Regions from separate parts of the Homo sapiens genome. Here all the other regions are linked to region 3. The links are contacts of gene promoters, found by promoter capture Hi-C in human tissues and cell types (Jung and others, 2019). All regions are on one chromosome and are shown on one strand. Each heading gives the region's core, a stretch centred on a gene start or on the middle of the fragment in contact. The rest is flanking DNA. Distances are from core to core; before and after follow the strand shown.

What was found. Contacts are between HindIII fragments. The study calls those that stand out against the background at their distance.
Region 1: a fragment that was not itself captured here is called in contact with the fragment with the promoter of TM4SF19 in region 3 in 4 of the 25 tissues and cell types used here (aorta, mesendoderm cells, psoas muscle and 1 more).
Region 2: a contact is called between a fragment that was not itself captured here and the fragment with the promoter of TM4SF19 in region 3, in 1 of the 25 tissues and cell types used here (pancreas).

What each region holds. Positions count from the first base shown.
Region 1 is chr3:196,388,311-196,392,900 of GRCh38, reverse strand. UBXN7 (UBX domain protein 7) reads left to right here. Exons shown (of 11, transcript NM_015562.2): 5 at 976-1,088. Among named protein-coding and RNA genes, the nearest start is that of UBXN7-AS1, 41 kb to the left of the region's middle. The HindIII fragment of the contact is 8,329 bases long and covers 1-4,590 here.
Region 2 is chr3:196,371,995-196,376,315 of GRCh38, reverse strand. UBXN7 (UBX domain protein 7) reads left to right here. Exons shown (of 11, transcript NM_015562.2): 6 at 4,274-4,321. Among named protein-coding and RNA genes, the nearest start is that of TM4SF19-DYNLT2B, 36 kb to the right of the region's middle. The HindIII fragment of the contact is 7,607 bases long and covers 1-4,321 here.
Region 3 is chr3:196,334,938-196,339,976 of GRCh38, reverse strand. It overlaps TM4SF19 (transmembrane 4 L six family member 19), which reads left to right and starts at 1,589. Exons shown (of 5, transcript NM_138461.4): 1 at 1,589-1,713. It overlaps TM4SF19-DYNLT2B (TM4SF19-DYNLT2B readthrough (NMD candidate)), which reads left to right and starts at 1,557. Exons shown (of 6, transcript NR_037950.1): 1 at 1,557-1,713. RefSeq lists a silencer at 1,285-1,456 and enhancers at 1,205-1,499, 866-2,065. The HindIII fragment of the contact is 8,804 bases long and covers 1-4,201 here.

The sequences.
Region 1 (4,590 bases), core at 646-3,145, 53 kb before region 3:
GTCATCTAGGGAATCCTGTGTCCTTCCAGTGGAAGGTGACAACAGTGGTCATCATCTCTACTGTCATAATCTTTTTTTTATTATTACTATTTATTTTTGAGATGGAGTCTCGCTCTGTCACCCAGGCTGGAGTGCAGTGGCATGATCTCAGCTTACTGCAACCTTCACCTCTCAGGTTCAAACGATTCTCCTGCCTCAGCCTCCCAAGTAGCTGGGACTACAGGCTTGTGCCACCACACCCGGCTAAGTTTTGTATTTTTAGTAGAGATGAGGTTTCACCATGTTGCCCAGGCTGGCCTTGAACTCCTGACCTCAGGTGATCCGCACATCTCAGCCTCCCATAGTGCTGGGACTACAGGCATGCGCCACTACACCTGGCTAATTTTTTTTTTTTGAGATGGAGTCTCACACTCTGTTGCCCAGGCTGGAGTGCAGTGGCGCGATCTCTGCTCACTGCAACCTCTGCCTCCAGGGTTCAGGCTATTCTCCTGCCTCAGCCTCCCGAGTAGCTGGGATTACAGGCATGCTCCACCATGCCCGGCTTTTTTTTTTTGTATTTTTAGTTGAAACGGGGTTTCACCATCTTGGCCAGGCTGATCTCAAACTCCTGACCTCAGGTGATCTGCTGACCTCGGCCATCCAAAGTTCTAGAATTATAGACATGAGCCACCGCACTCAGCCTCTCCCATGTTACAGTTAGTTTCTGAATATGTGAAGAGGTTACTTTGATTAAGTGAATATTTTCAGTTAATTTTCTTTGTATCCTTGGGATAGGGAATACCACCAAGTCTTAAGATTCCTCTTATCTCCCTTTGCATTTTTTTTTTTCAGAGTCAACATTAGATCTTTGTATTTGAGGTCAAGCATATTGACAGCAATTCCTTCAATTGACAGAAGTTTGTGTTTTTTTTTTTTTTTTTTTCAGTGTGATTCATGATTATGGCTAACTGAAACTTTCATCCTTCTGTATTATAGTTCGGCAAGAACAAGAATTAAGAAATGGAGGAGCTATCGATAAGAAATTAACTACCCTTGCAGATCTATTCCGGCCACCCATTGATTTGATGCATAAAGGCAGCTTTGAAACAGTAAGTTGTTGGAGAGTCAGTGCCTTAACTATGAATCCTTTTGCATTTTCAATGCCTTTTTTTAAAAAATTACTTGTTTTAGAGCAGGTCTCGCTCTGTCGTCCAGGCTGGACTGCAGTGACACAATCATAGCTCACTGCAGCCTTGAACTCTTGGGCTCAAGGGATCCTCCTACCTCAGCTTCCCGAGTAGCTAGGGCTATAGGCATGTGCCACCACACTCAGCTAATTAAAAAAATTTTTTTGGTAGAGACAGGGTCTCACTGTGTCGCCCAGGCTGGTCTCGAATGCCTAGGTTCAAGCAATCCTCTTGCCTCAGCCTCCCAAACTGCTTGGATTATAGGTGTGAGCCACTGCACCTGGCCTTCAGTGGCATTTTTTATTTTTATAAGAACAAAAAACCATTGTCAGTGTATAGGGAATTGGCATTATAATAAGTATATCTACATGATATGCCTAAAGGTTACATTGATTTATATTTCTACCAGCAATATATGAAATATATTTCTACCAGCAGTATATGAGATTGATGAAATCCTTTTATTAGCCTTGTGCGGTGTCATTTTAGAATCTTTGCCATTTTGATAGCTTTTTAAAATATCTCACTTGTTCATATATCTTTGACTACTACTGAGAATAGTGTGTGTGGTTTGTTAGCCATTTGTAAATTGTTGATAGGTGTCTTTTGTCTATATTTCTGTGCGGATCGTAATGTGTTTGAAAAGAATATCTCTAATTGGAGAACACATTCACCCTCAGTTCTTCTTGGTTTTATCGTGACTAAACCCAAACAAAAACTTTCCAGAGTATGTTTACTTGGTTGTATGCTAACTTACAGACTTACTTAGGGCAGAGGAAAGATCATTCTTTTTAATAATCCTTGGGACCCATTCTCTTGCATTAGGAGGAACACATATGTTAAATGAAGGAGTTTAGTAAAGATTTTAGATACTCTTCTGTTGAGGTGTTCAAACAGCTTGCCTTTTCGTGTTGATTAACATGTTAATGCTCTTTTGAATTACAATAGCATTTCCATAGATGTAAATCAGTTACATTTCAGTTGAGTCTTTTTTTTTTTTTTTTCCTTGAGATGGAGTCTCGCCGGAGTGCAGTGGCACGATCTCAGCTCACTGCAACCTCCGCCTCCCAGGTTCAAGTAATTCTCCTGCCTCAGCCTCCTGAGTAGCTGGGAAAACAGGTGCGCACCACCACGCCTGGCTAATTTTTTGTATTTTTAGTAGAGACGGGGTTTCACCATATTGGCCAGGCTGGTCTCAAACTCCTGACCTCATGATCTGCCCACCTCAGCCTCCCACAGTGCTGGGATTACAGGCGTGAGCCACCGCGCCCAGCCTTCAGTTAAGTCTTACCTGTTAGGACCCTGTAGGCCAAAGAATAACTGCAAGAATGATGTGTATCAAGCCCAACAGGTGCCCCAAACTAACTACTACTTGGGAGGCTGAGGTGGGAGGATCCCTTGAGTTCAGGAGTTTGAGGCTGTGGTGTGTGATGATCATGCCTATGAAAACCACTGCACTCCAGCCTGGGCAACATAGTGAGACCCTATCTTTCCCTTTTCTTTGTCTTTTTTTTTTGAGACAGGTTCTCATTCTGTCACCTGGGATGGAGTGCAGTGGCAAAATCATGGCTCACTGCAGCCTCCAACTTATGGTCTCAATTGATCCCCTGGTCTTAACCTCCCAAATAAGTAGGGCTACAGACACCCACTACCACACCTGGCCAATTTTAAAAATATTTTGTGGAGAGGGGGTCTTGCTGTGTTCCCCAGGCTGGTCTCAAATTCCTGGTGTCAAGTGATCCTTCTGCCTTGGTTCCCAAAGTGCTGGGATTACAGGCATGAGCTGAAACCCCATTTCTTAAAATAAACAACCGATGTATATCAGCTGCATATTTGAATATGTTATGATTATTTTTTTTTAAATGTGTCCTTTGATATACTTTTACACTGTCATACATGAAGTATTTAGGAGAAGGAATTTCAATGTAAGCTTGTGTGTTAGTTTGCTTGCATTGCTAGAAAGGAATCCCTGAGACTGGGCAATTTATAAAGAAAAAGGTATATTTTGACTCAACGTTTCTACAGGCTGTATAGAAAGCATTGTGCTGACATCTGCTTCTGGTGAGGCCTCAGGAAGCTTGCAGTCATGGCAGAAGGCAAAGGGGAAGCCGGTGTAGCACATGGTGCGAGGAGCAAGGGGTCAAGCCATTCACTAGGGGTCTGCCCCCATGACCCAAACACCACCTACGAGGCCCCACCCCCAACACTGGGGATTACATTTCAGTGTGAGATTTGGAGGGGACAAATTTCCAAACCATATCAGCGTGCTCTCCAGTTTCAATTTTCTGAATCAGAAAACCTTGAAAGTGGTTTGGCTGCATGTAACAGAAAACCCAAATGATGATAATTTGACCAAACAATGCTTTCTTTTTGTCAGTAATAAGCCTAGAGTTGAAGAAATTATTGCTGTTCATTCATAAGCTCAAAGATGTCAGGTTAGATGTCTCCTCAGTTTTCTTCATCTTTCCTTCATGGTCTCAACATGGCAGCTGCCTATCCTTTCTAGTATTCTGGTGATACTACAGCCATTGAGAGAGAGAATAGCAGCAATATTAAAGGCAGAAAAGGATCTTAGTTTGTTTTGGCACGTGTTCTATTTTTATTAGCTTATGAGTTGCTCTAGGACGTAATGCAGTAACTAAGCTTGATTTAGTTTGGTCACTTTGGAGTGAAAAAGCAGTTACTTTTCTGCTTGGTCATTAAGGGAAAATACGAATCTCTTTTGATGTTGTCCCCTGAAATTTAAGTTATATCACCTTTTTTGCCTTGTATTTCATGGCCTGTGTTTACAGCAGTCCATTTTTTTTTTCACTGATAATATTATACTTAACCATCTGCAAGACTTTAAATGAAATAAATATTCCCTTCCAAAAGCAGGTATTTCATTATGGTTAATGATACATGTATTAGTTTTATAACAATTAGGGAGATAACAAGCAAAATTAAGTCATTGAAGTTTAGAAAGATAAATGTTAAAAATTAGAGGGATACTCTTTGGCTGACCAAGGAGGGCCCATAGGTTTGTTCCTCATATTAGATGTAAATGTGAGCCACAGTTTTACAGGCTTAGAAGCTAGTGTAACTAGAGGTAGGTCATGTTCAAGGATTCTTTCTGGCTCATGCTAACCAGATGAGAGAGACTGATTAATTCACTTGTTCACTCAATACATATTTATTGAGGCCTTGTGTTGCAGGACCTAGTTCTAGGTGATCAAGAGTAAGGGTTTGACTGCATGTGAGAGAGACTGGAAAAAAAAAAAACAAACAGTAGCTTATTTATTTCTTTTATTATACTTTAAGTTCTAGGGTACATGCGCATAACATGCAGGTTTGATACATAGGTATACATGTGCCATGTTGGTTTGCTGCACCCATCAACTCATTTACATTAGGTATTTCTCCTAATGCTATCCCTCCCCCAGCC
Region 2 (4,321 bases), core at 1,163-3,662, 36 kb before region 3:
CCACCTCGGCCTCCCAAAGTGCTGTGATTACAGGCAAGAGCCACTGCCCCTGGCAATATATAACATTTTTCTGATTAAACTTTATATTGTTTACATTTAGTTTTATTCAAATTAGACAAATCATTGAAATTTAGAAAATGAACAAGGAAAAATAAAATTGTAATTTCCATTTCCATAAAAAAGTACTGTGTATATTTTAATATATTTTCTTCTCGACTTTATGCATATATACTTACTGAAACATATTAAATTTGTTCAAATCCTTCATTTTCTTTTTCTTTCTTTTTTTGAGGCAGTCTTGCCCTGTTGCCTAGGCTGGAGTGCAGTGGCATGATCCCAGCTCACTGCAACCTCTGCCTCCCAGATTCAAGCAATACTTGTACCTCAGCTACCCAAGTAGATGGGATTACAGGCATGCGCCACCACGCTCGTCTAATTTTAGTATCGTTAGTAGAGATGGGGTTTCGCCATGTTGACCAGGCTGGTCTTGAACTCTTGGGCTCAAATGATCAGCCCACATCGGCCTCCCAAAGTGCTGGGATTACAGGCATGAGCCACCATGCCAGGCCTAAATCCTTTTTTATCATGCCTTCCTGATCTGGCTGGTACTGGGACAGACGTTAGTCTCCCGCTGTTTTACTCTGGGGTCTCCATTATAATGGCTTTGAAATGTTGATTCAGAACAACCTAATAGATTCCAAGGATTCCAGTAATCTTCTTCAATGATAATCTTCCATGAGGAGATTATTTTTCTCATGGCCCACTCTCACCTCCAGTCCTTGATTCACATAATTGGTATACTTAGATTATTTTTAAGACTCTCTCTTTTTAAATTGCATATATTCAATTATTTTAAATCTTTTTAGAGATGGGGTCTTGCTGTGTTGCCCAGGGTGGTCTCGAACTCCTTGCCTTAAGCAATCCTCCTGTCTTGGCCTCCCAAGGCAGTGGGATTATAGGTGTGAGCCACTGCTCCAGACTACTGTACATATTTAAGATGTATAACATGAAGATTGGATATACATAGTAAAATGATTACTACAGTCAAGCAAATTAACCTGTCCTTACCTTCCATAATTGTCTTTTTACGTGTGTGTGTGTGTGTGTGTGTGTGTGTGTGTGTGTGTGTGTGGTAAGAGCACCTAATAATCTGCTCTCAGCACATTTTCAATGTATAATACGATATTATTAAGTATAGTCCTCATGTTGTACATGAGATCTCTAGACTTATTCAAGACTCTTCTTTCTTCCTCTCCTTTTTCCTTTCCTTTCCCTTCCTTCCTTCCTTCCTTCCTTCCTTCCTTCCTTCCTCCCTCCCTCCCTCCCTCCCTTCCTTCCTTCCCTCCTTCCTTTTTTTCTTTCTTTCTTTCCTTCCTTCCTTCTTCCCTTCCCCTCCCCCTCCCCCTCCCCCTCCCCCCCTCCCCTCCCCCTCCCCTCCCCTCCCCTCCCCTCACTCTGTTGCCCAGGCTGGAGTGCAATGGCACGATCTTGGCTCACTGCAACCTCTGCCACCCAGGTTCAAGCAATTCTGCCTCAGTCTCCTGAGTAGCTGGGATTACAGGTGCCCACCACCATGCCTGGCTAATTTTGTGTTTTTAGTAGAGATGGGGTTTCACCATGTTGACCAGGCTGGTCTTGAACTCCTGACCTCAGGTGATCCACCCACCTCGGCCTCCCAAAGTGCTGGGATTGCAGGTGTGAGCCACTGCACCTGGCCTATTCAAGACTCTTTTATTCCCTCCCAATATTGTTGTTTTGTTTGAAAATTGTGTCTTTGCACCCTTCCTTTTAGCAGTAACAATTTTTTAACAATATCTTCAATGTGGTTAGTATCATTTCCAAGTTTCTTTTGCTAGTATTAGGTTTCTCCCCCATTGGAAGCTTCACAAAGGCAAAGATTTTTATATTTTAGAACTGCTATTACTTTAATATCTATAACTGTACCTGAAACATGATAGGTACTCAGTATTTGTTGAATGAATAAATCTGAGATAATGAAAGCATGAATGTGAGTAAACAAATTTTTAAAAGCGAAAAAAAAAAGTGACTCTTCCATTTTAAACTCTGGACTTTTATTCATTTTCAGTTTTGTACATTTTTTTCTTGTCATTGTTTTTGGGGCAGACTTATGTAAATTTACCCTGCTGTAGGAATATGTGCGCTCTAGTCTATCTCTAGAACGTATGGTCATTTTTCCGTTTATTTTCAAATACTGTTTCTGTAGTTAAAGCAGCTTAATTATTCATTTATCATTCACTTTTTAAATCTTTGTCCTATAAGGAAGTAAATGGAAATATTACTTCCTATAAGCAAGGAATTATTATATTTGTATATTTTAAAATAAGCCTTTGACCAGTTAAATGCGGCTTCCTGGCTCAATATGAGGATATTTCTTTTTAGACCTTGGGTTTTCACCCATGGAATCAGTAAGCAAATATTAGAAGATAATTTATTCTGGGGCTGAGTGGGGTGACTGACACCTGTAATCCCAAGACTTTTGGAGGCCAGGGCAGGAGGATCATTTGAGGCTAGGTGTTCCAAACCAGCCTGGCTAACATAGTGAAACCCCTGTCTCTACAAAAAATATAAACAACAAAAAAAGAAAATAATTTATTCTGGGGGATTCATACAAAAAAAAAGCTATTTGTGAGATGATGTAGACCTTCTTAAAACAGAAGATATTCTCAGTCTCACATTTTTCAGTACCCACAAAATGATGTCCAGTATGTTCTTGGATTGTTATTACACCAAATTCATTGATTCTTAAGATTTTCCCATGTCACACTGATTTGGAAAAGAATACTGTTCTAGGATAAATTTATTCCAAAACTGTGGTTTCGTGTCACTGTTCTTTCCTAGGCAAAGATTTGAGGCAGCATTTGCTTATTTGCTTTTCTGCCATTGTTTTCCACTCAGCAGCATTTCATGGGTCTTTATGCTGACAAGGGACTGACAGGCAAAAAGTACGCACTAACGATTGATGTATCGATATCTGTTGTACGAATCGTAGAGTTGTTTGGGGATCATTCTCAAACATTCTTTGACCTTGTAATCCCAATTTTTGGAATCTACTCCTAGGAAGACAACTCTTAAGAGAAAAAACTCTCAGCAGTTTTTACTAAAATGTTTAGGGTGATTCTCCAAAACAGCATATATGCCTAATAACTGAGATTAATATGATGTTTAAAAATGTTCCAGAAATGATGTTGAAGAAAACAAAGTAAAATATACACACCAATTGCATTCATTAAAAAGAAGTATAATTGGCTGGGCGCGGTGGCTCACGCCTATAATCCCAGCACTTTGGGAGGCTGAGATGGGTGCGTCACCTGAGGTCAGGAGTTTGAGACCAGCCTGGCCAACATGGTGAAACCCCGTCTCTTTACTAAAAATATATAAAAAATTAGTCAGGCATGGTGGCACACACCTGTAATCCCAGCTACTCGGTAGGCTAAGGCAGAAGAATCACTTGAACCTAGTAGGTGGAGGTTGTAGTGAGCCGAGATCGTGCCATTGTTCTCCGACTTAGGCAACAAGAGCAAAGCTCGTCTCAAAAAAAAAAAAAATTGTTGATGGAGGTTGCAAGAGAATAAAATTACGTGACTTGTTGATCTTAAGTTTGTTGAATCCTTTTCAGGTAAAGATGTTTAAACATACATTAAAAATTCAGCCATTACCGGTCATGATGAGTCACACCTGTAATTCCAGCACTTTGGGAGGCCAAGGTGGACGGGTCATTTGAGGTCAGAAGTTCGAGACCAGCCTGGCCAACATGTTGATACCCCATCTCTACTAAAAATACAAAAATCAGCCAGGCGTGTTGGGGCACGCCTTTAATCCCAACTACTTGGGAGGCTGCGGCGGGAGAATCACTTGAACTCAGGAGGTGGAGGTTGCAGTGAGCCGAGACTGCCCCACTGTACTCTAGCCTGGGCAATAGAGTTAGACTCTGTCTCAAAAAAAAAAAAAAAAGAAAGAAAGAAAGAAAGGAGAGAGAGAGAGAGAGAGAGAGAGAATCAGCTATTATAACAAATAACTGGATAAAAGAGAAATGAGTTCATTTAAATTTGAGCAGTGCTTGAAATGGACAGTATAGCTATAAATGCATATGCGAAGTAAATATATAGAATGTATAAATGCTGAAAACTCTAGATGTCGTATCTGGCAAAAACTTAGTATTTTTAATGAAAGACAACAACCTCTGAACAACTACGGAAACATCTGTCACTAAGTAGAAATTATTTCTAACAAATGTGTAACTTTACTCTTGCAGGCCAAAGAGTGTGGCCAGATGCAAAATAAGTGGCTGATGATAAACATT
Region 3 (5,039 bases), core at 340-2,839:
AGTGAGTCATGATTGTGCCACTGCACTCCCGCCTGGATGACACAGCAAAACCGCCTTTTTTTTTTTTTTTTTTAAAGAAAACTGTTTGATTCCATTTATGTGAAATTCAAGAACAACTAAAACCTAATCAATTATTATAAGAGCCAAAATGAAAGTTAACACTGGGGACAAGGGATACGAATGACAGGCGACACAATGAAACCTCTGGGGATTTGGAATGTCCTGTATCTTGATTTCTGTGCTGGTTCACCAGGGTATACATGTAAAAATTCATCAGACTTTAACATTAAGATTTGTGCACTTTAGGCTGGGCGTGCTGGCTCACACCTGTAATCCCAGCACTTTGGGAGGCGGAGGCGGGTGGATCGCCTGAGGTCGGGAGTTTGAGACCAGCCTGACCAACATGGAGAAACCGTGTTTCTACTAAAAATACAAAATTAGCCAGGCGTGGTGGCACGTGCCTGTAATCCCAGCTACTTGGGAGGCTGAGGCAGGAGAATTGCTTGAAGCCAGGAGGCAGAGGTTGCAGTGAGCTGAGATTGTGCCACTGCACTCCAGCCTGGGAACAAGAGTGAAACTCCGTCTCAAAAAAAAAAAAAAGAAAAGAAAAGATTTGTGCACTTTACTGTATATAATATCTAGATGTTTAAAATGCAATGGGAGCATAGAGAAAGAAGTACCTAACTCGGAGTAAAGAAATCCTGGCAGACTTCACTGGGAATGTTTGAACTGAATCTTGAATAGGAGCTTGTCCATAGAGGGTCACGGATCTCCCACACAGAGAGCACCACAAAATCCTCAGCAATTTGGTGAGAGTATGGTACAAGATGATAGTGGCCTGGGGCTTGAACAAGAGGCTGAGTGCGGTGGCTCACACCTGTAATCTCAGCACTTTGGGAGGCTGAGGCGAACACCTGAGGTCAGCAGTTCGAGACCAGCCTGGCCAAAATGGCAAAACCCCGTCTCTATTAAAAATACAAACATTAGCCGGGCATGGTGGCAGGTGCCTGTAATCCCAGCTACTCAGGAGGCTGAGGTGGGAGGATTGCTTGAGTGTGGGAGGCGGAGGTTGCAGTGAGCCGAGATCATGCCACTGCACTCCAGCCTGGGTGACAGAGTGAGACCCTGTCTCAAAAAAAAAAAAAAAAAAAAGTTAGACGTCTAGTACAGGAACCATGCAACACATCGAGTCAGCCAAGGGCAAGGTAAGGAGAGTGATGAGGAAAAAGGGGTGGCTGCCCTGCTCGGTGCTGTTCTGTCAAAGAGCCGAAATTCTTCGCGGGGTGGCAGATGAGGACAGGAACAGCTGGGGTGTGGCAAGTGTTGCTGCCTGGGGAGAGCGGAGGGTGAGGTGTTTCTCACGGGTGCATCCAGTGACTCATCAGGACAGCGGAGCTCATGAGGCCATGTCTCCCGTTTCCTGCCTTAGAATCACATGAAAATGAGCAGAGGGTGGGTCATCAGGACAGGGCTCTCCGGGGAGCGGAAGCGCCTTCAATGCAGGCCTGTGGGCAGGGGCGTGGGGGCGCGCACACACACACGCCTGGGTGACCTCTACGTATATACAGAGCCTCCCTGGCCCTCCTGGAAAGAGTCCTGGAAAGACAACCTTCAGGTCCAGCCCTGGAGCTGGAGGAGTGGAGCCCCACTCTGAAGACGCAGCCTTTCTCCAGGTTCTGTCTCTCCCATTCTGATTCTTGACACCAGATGCAGGTAAGCAGAGATGAAAGGGTGAGGTGACGGCCAGGGAACAGCCTAGCCTCACAGATGAGAGTGCACGCTTCCACTCCAGTGAGCCTGGCTCTGCAGCTTGGCGTCTGTGTGACTTTGCGCCATTCACTTACCTTCTCCTGTTGCCTCAGTCTGTCAACTTCTGGCCTTTGCACCTAGAATACTCTTCCTGCCTAGTATCTCATCGTCCATCAAGTTTGGGCATGGGCAGCCCTTCCTCCGGGAAGCTTCGTTTTGCTTCTGCCAGATAGGATTAGGTTCCTCCATGTGCTTCCATGACACCTTAAGTTGGATGCCCCTGCCTGGTACTTACTGTTACCAGCTGTGAATCCAGCGAGTCTGCAGCAAACTCAATCCTTGCCTTCTCGGGGGAGAGATTCGGCTGAGGGGCAGAAGTGGGTTTAAGGCAGAGGGAGAGGCTGAAGCAAGTTTGAGAGCAGGAGTGAAGGTTTATTAAAAAGTTTTTGAGCAGCAATGAAAGGAAGTAAAGTACACTTGGAAAAGGGCCAAGTGCGTGACTTGAGACACCCAAATGTGCTGTTAGACCCTTGACTTGGCGCCTGCCTGCCGCACAGGCACTTGGGAGGGGCCGCATGCGCAGTGTGTTTACTGAAGTCGTGCGCATGCTCACTTGAGGCGTTTTTCCCTTACCCGCGGAGCAGCACTAGAGGAAGGTCACACACACCAGCTAAACTCCACCATTTTGCTTCTTAGTGTAGATGCTTGAGCCCACTCGCCCAATTCCTGAGCTCTTACCAGGAAGCTGCTGATCACCAAGTTCAGGTATTTTCTATCTATTGGGAGACTGTCTTTCCCAACGCTGGCTGTGACCAATATTATTTTAGAAAGACAGTGTAACAACCGCCTGGCCATCACCTGATAGTCACCTGACATTACTGGGGTAGAGGCCCTCTCCCGCCCTGCTCATGTCTGCTCTATTTCTTACCACACTTGATTAGAATTACTTTTTGGCCAGCCTGACCCACATGGCGAAAACCCATCACTACTAAAAATACAAAATTAGCCGGGCGTGGTGCATGCCTGTAATTCCAGCTACTTGGGAGGCTGAGGCAGGAGAATAACTTGAACCCGAGAGGCGGAGGTTGCAGTGAGCCAAGAGCATGCCGCTGCACTCCAGCCTGGGCAACAAGAGCGAGACTGTGTCTCAAAAAAAAAAAAAAAAAAAAAAAAAAAGAATTGCTTTTTGCGTCAGCAGTGTCCCCACTAGACTTTAAGCTCCTCAAGGAAAGGGATTACATCTTTTTCATCGTTATATCCCTAGCCCCCCAAGTGTCTGTCAGGTAGTGATCACTTAATAAATATCCGACTGAAGGAAGAATGAAAGAAAAGCCTTGCTGGGTGGCGAGGGAGAGACACAGATGTAGAGAATGTGCGGTCTCTTCCTCCATGGAATTGAGCCGATCACTTCTGTTGTTGCCTGGACATCTAGCCGATGACGTGCTCACCTAGCTAGGACCTCAGGACAGAACAAGGAACTCCCCAGCAGCCTGGTTTTAAGGTTTTACCTTCTGATCTTGCTTGTCTCTTCAGATATCAAATTAGGCCACCTCTTTGCTAACCTCCTGGTTCACATTTTTGGAAGGGTTTCTCCAAATGTTATAATTTCTAGGGGAATAAAGTCAGGAGGAGGGGTGAAATTCACACGAAGCCGCAGTGCGGCAAGTGCTTTTAGTGTTTGATTGGCGGACAGCCAGGGCTCTGAATTCCACTCATCCAAAAGCCATGCTCCAGCTGGTAGTTTTCCCTCGCTGTCCATCATTTTTAGTTTCCCCTTTAAGAGTTTTCTGGGCTGGGCGCTGTGGCTCACACCTGTAATCCCAGCACTTTAGGAGGCCAAGGTAGGTGAATCACCTGAGGTCAGGAGTTCAAGACCAGCGTGGCTAACCTGGAGAAACCCCATCTCTACTAAAAATACAAAATTAGCCGGGCGTAGTGGTGTGCACCTGTAATCCCAGCTACTCAGGAGTCTGAGGCAGGAGAATCACTTGAACCCAGGAGGCGGAGGTAGCAGTGAGCTGAGGCCGCGCCATTGCACTCCAGCCTGGGCAACAAGAGTGAAACTCTGTCTCAAAAAAAAAACAAAAAACAAAACAAAAACAAAAACAAAAAAAACAGACTTTTCTGATGGGAACGTTTTCTGTAGAAGAGATCGTCAGGGGGGTTGATGTTGCTGAAGTGTGTAGACGGTGCTTTCTCAGAGGTGCCGTGATTTGAAGGCACTAAATGCATTCCTGCACAACGGCGTCTCCTGGCCCCATGATCTAGAGCACCCGCTTGAAAGGCCAACCACACACCCATCTTTCCTTGGGCCCCGGTCAGACATCTGGGTGGGCAGTGGATTAAAGTTGTGAGTTGTTAACACCCTGGGTGGTTAATTTGCCTCAACACAGAATTACACACTGCAAGCCCCGCACTGCACGATGGGACCGTCTCGGAGGGAGGATGTGCAGACATGCGGGGACATCGCAGCAGTGTGGGCAGGCTGTGAGGGGGCCGTTCTCCACAGGCGCCCTGCTCCCAGGAGCAGGACAGGTTCCTTGCTGTGACTGAGGAGTCCGGTGGCCTGTCAGCCAGAGGGTTGATGGGGGAAGAGACACCCCATCCCTCCCGATTCCTGACCCCACCCTGCCCCAGGACCCTTGGGCCCCTGGGGTAGGAGTCACTGTTGCTTCATATCCTACGCCCACCCTCTCAGGGCACCCCACCTCTCTCCTACCCCCACCCTCCCAGGGCACCCCTCCCCTCTCCTACCCCCACCCTCCCAGGGCACCCCTCCCCTCTCCTACCCACACCCTCCCAGGGCACCCCTCCCCTCTCCTACCCACACCCTCCCAGTGCACCCCTCCCCTCTCCTACCCCCACCCTCCCAGTGCACCCCTCCTCTTTCCTACAACCCCTCCCCAAGCACCCCTGCCCTCTCCTGCCCCCACCCTCCCCATGCACCCCTCCCCTCTGCTACCTCCACCCTCCCCGTGCATCCCTCCCCTCTCCTACCCCCACTCTCCCTGTGCACTCCTCCCCTGTCCTCTGGCCACCCTCCCAGGGCACCTCTCCCCTCTCCTACCCCCACCCTCCCAGAGCACCCCTCCCCTCTCCAACCCCCACCTTCTCAGGGCATCCCTTCCCTCTCCTACCCCCACCCTCCCAGTGCACCCCTCCCTTCTCCTAACCCCCACCTTCTCAGGGCATCCCTTCCCTCTCCTACACCCACCCTCCCAGTGCACCCCTCCCTTCTCCTAACCCCCACCTTCTCAGGGCACCCTTCCCTCTCCTACACCCACCCTCCC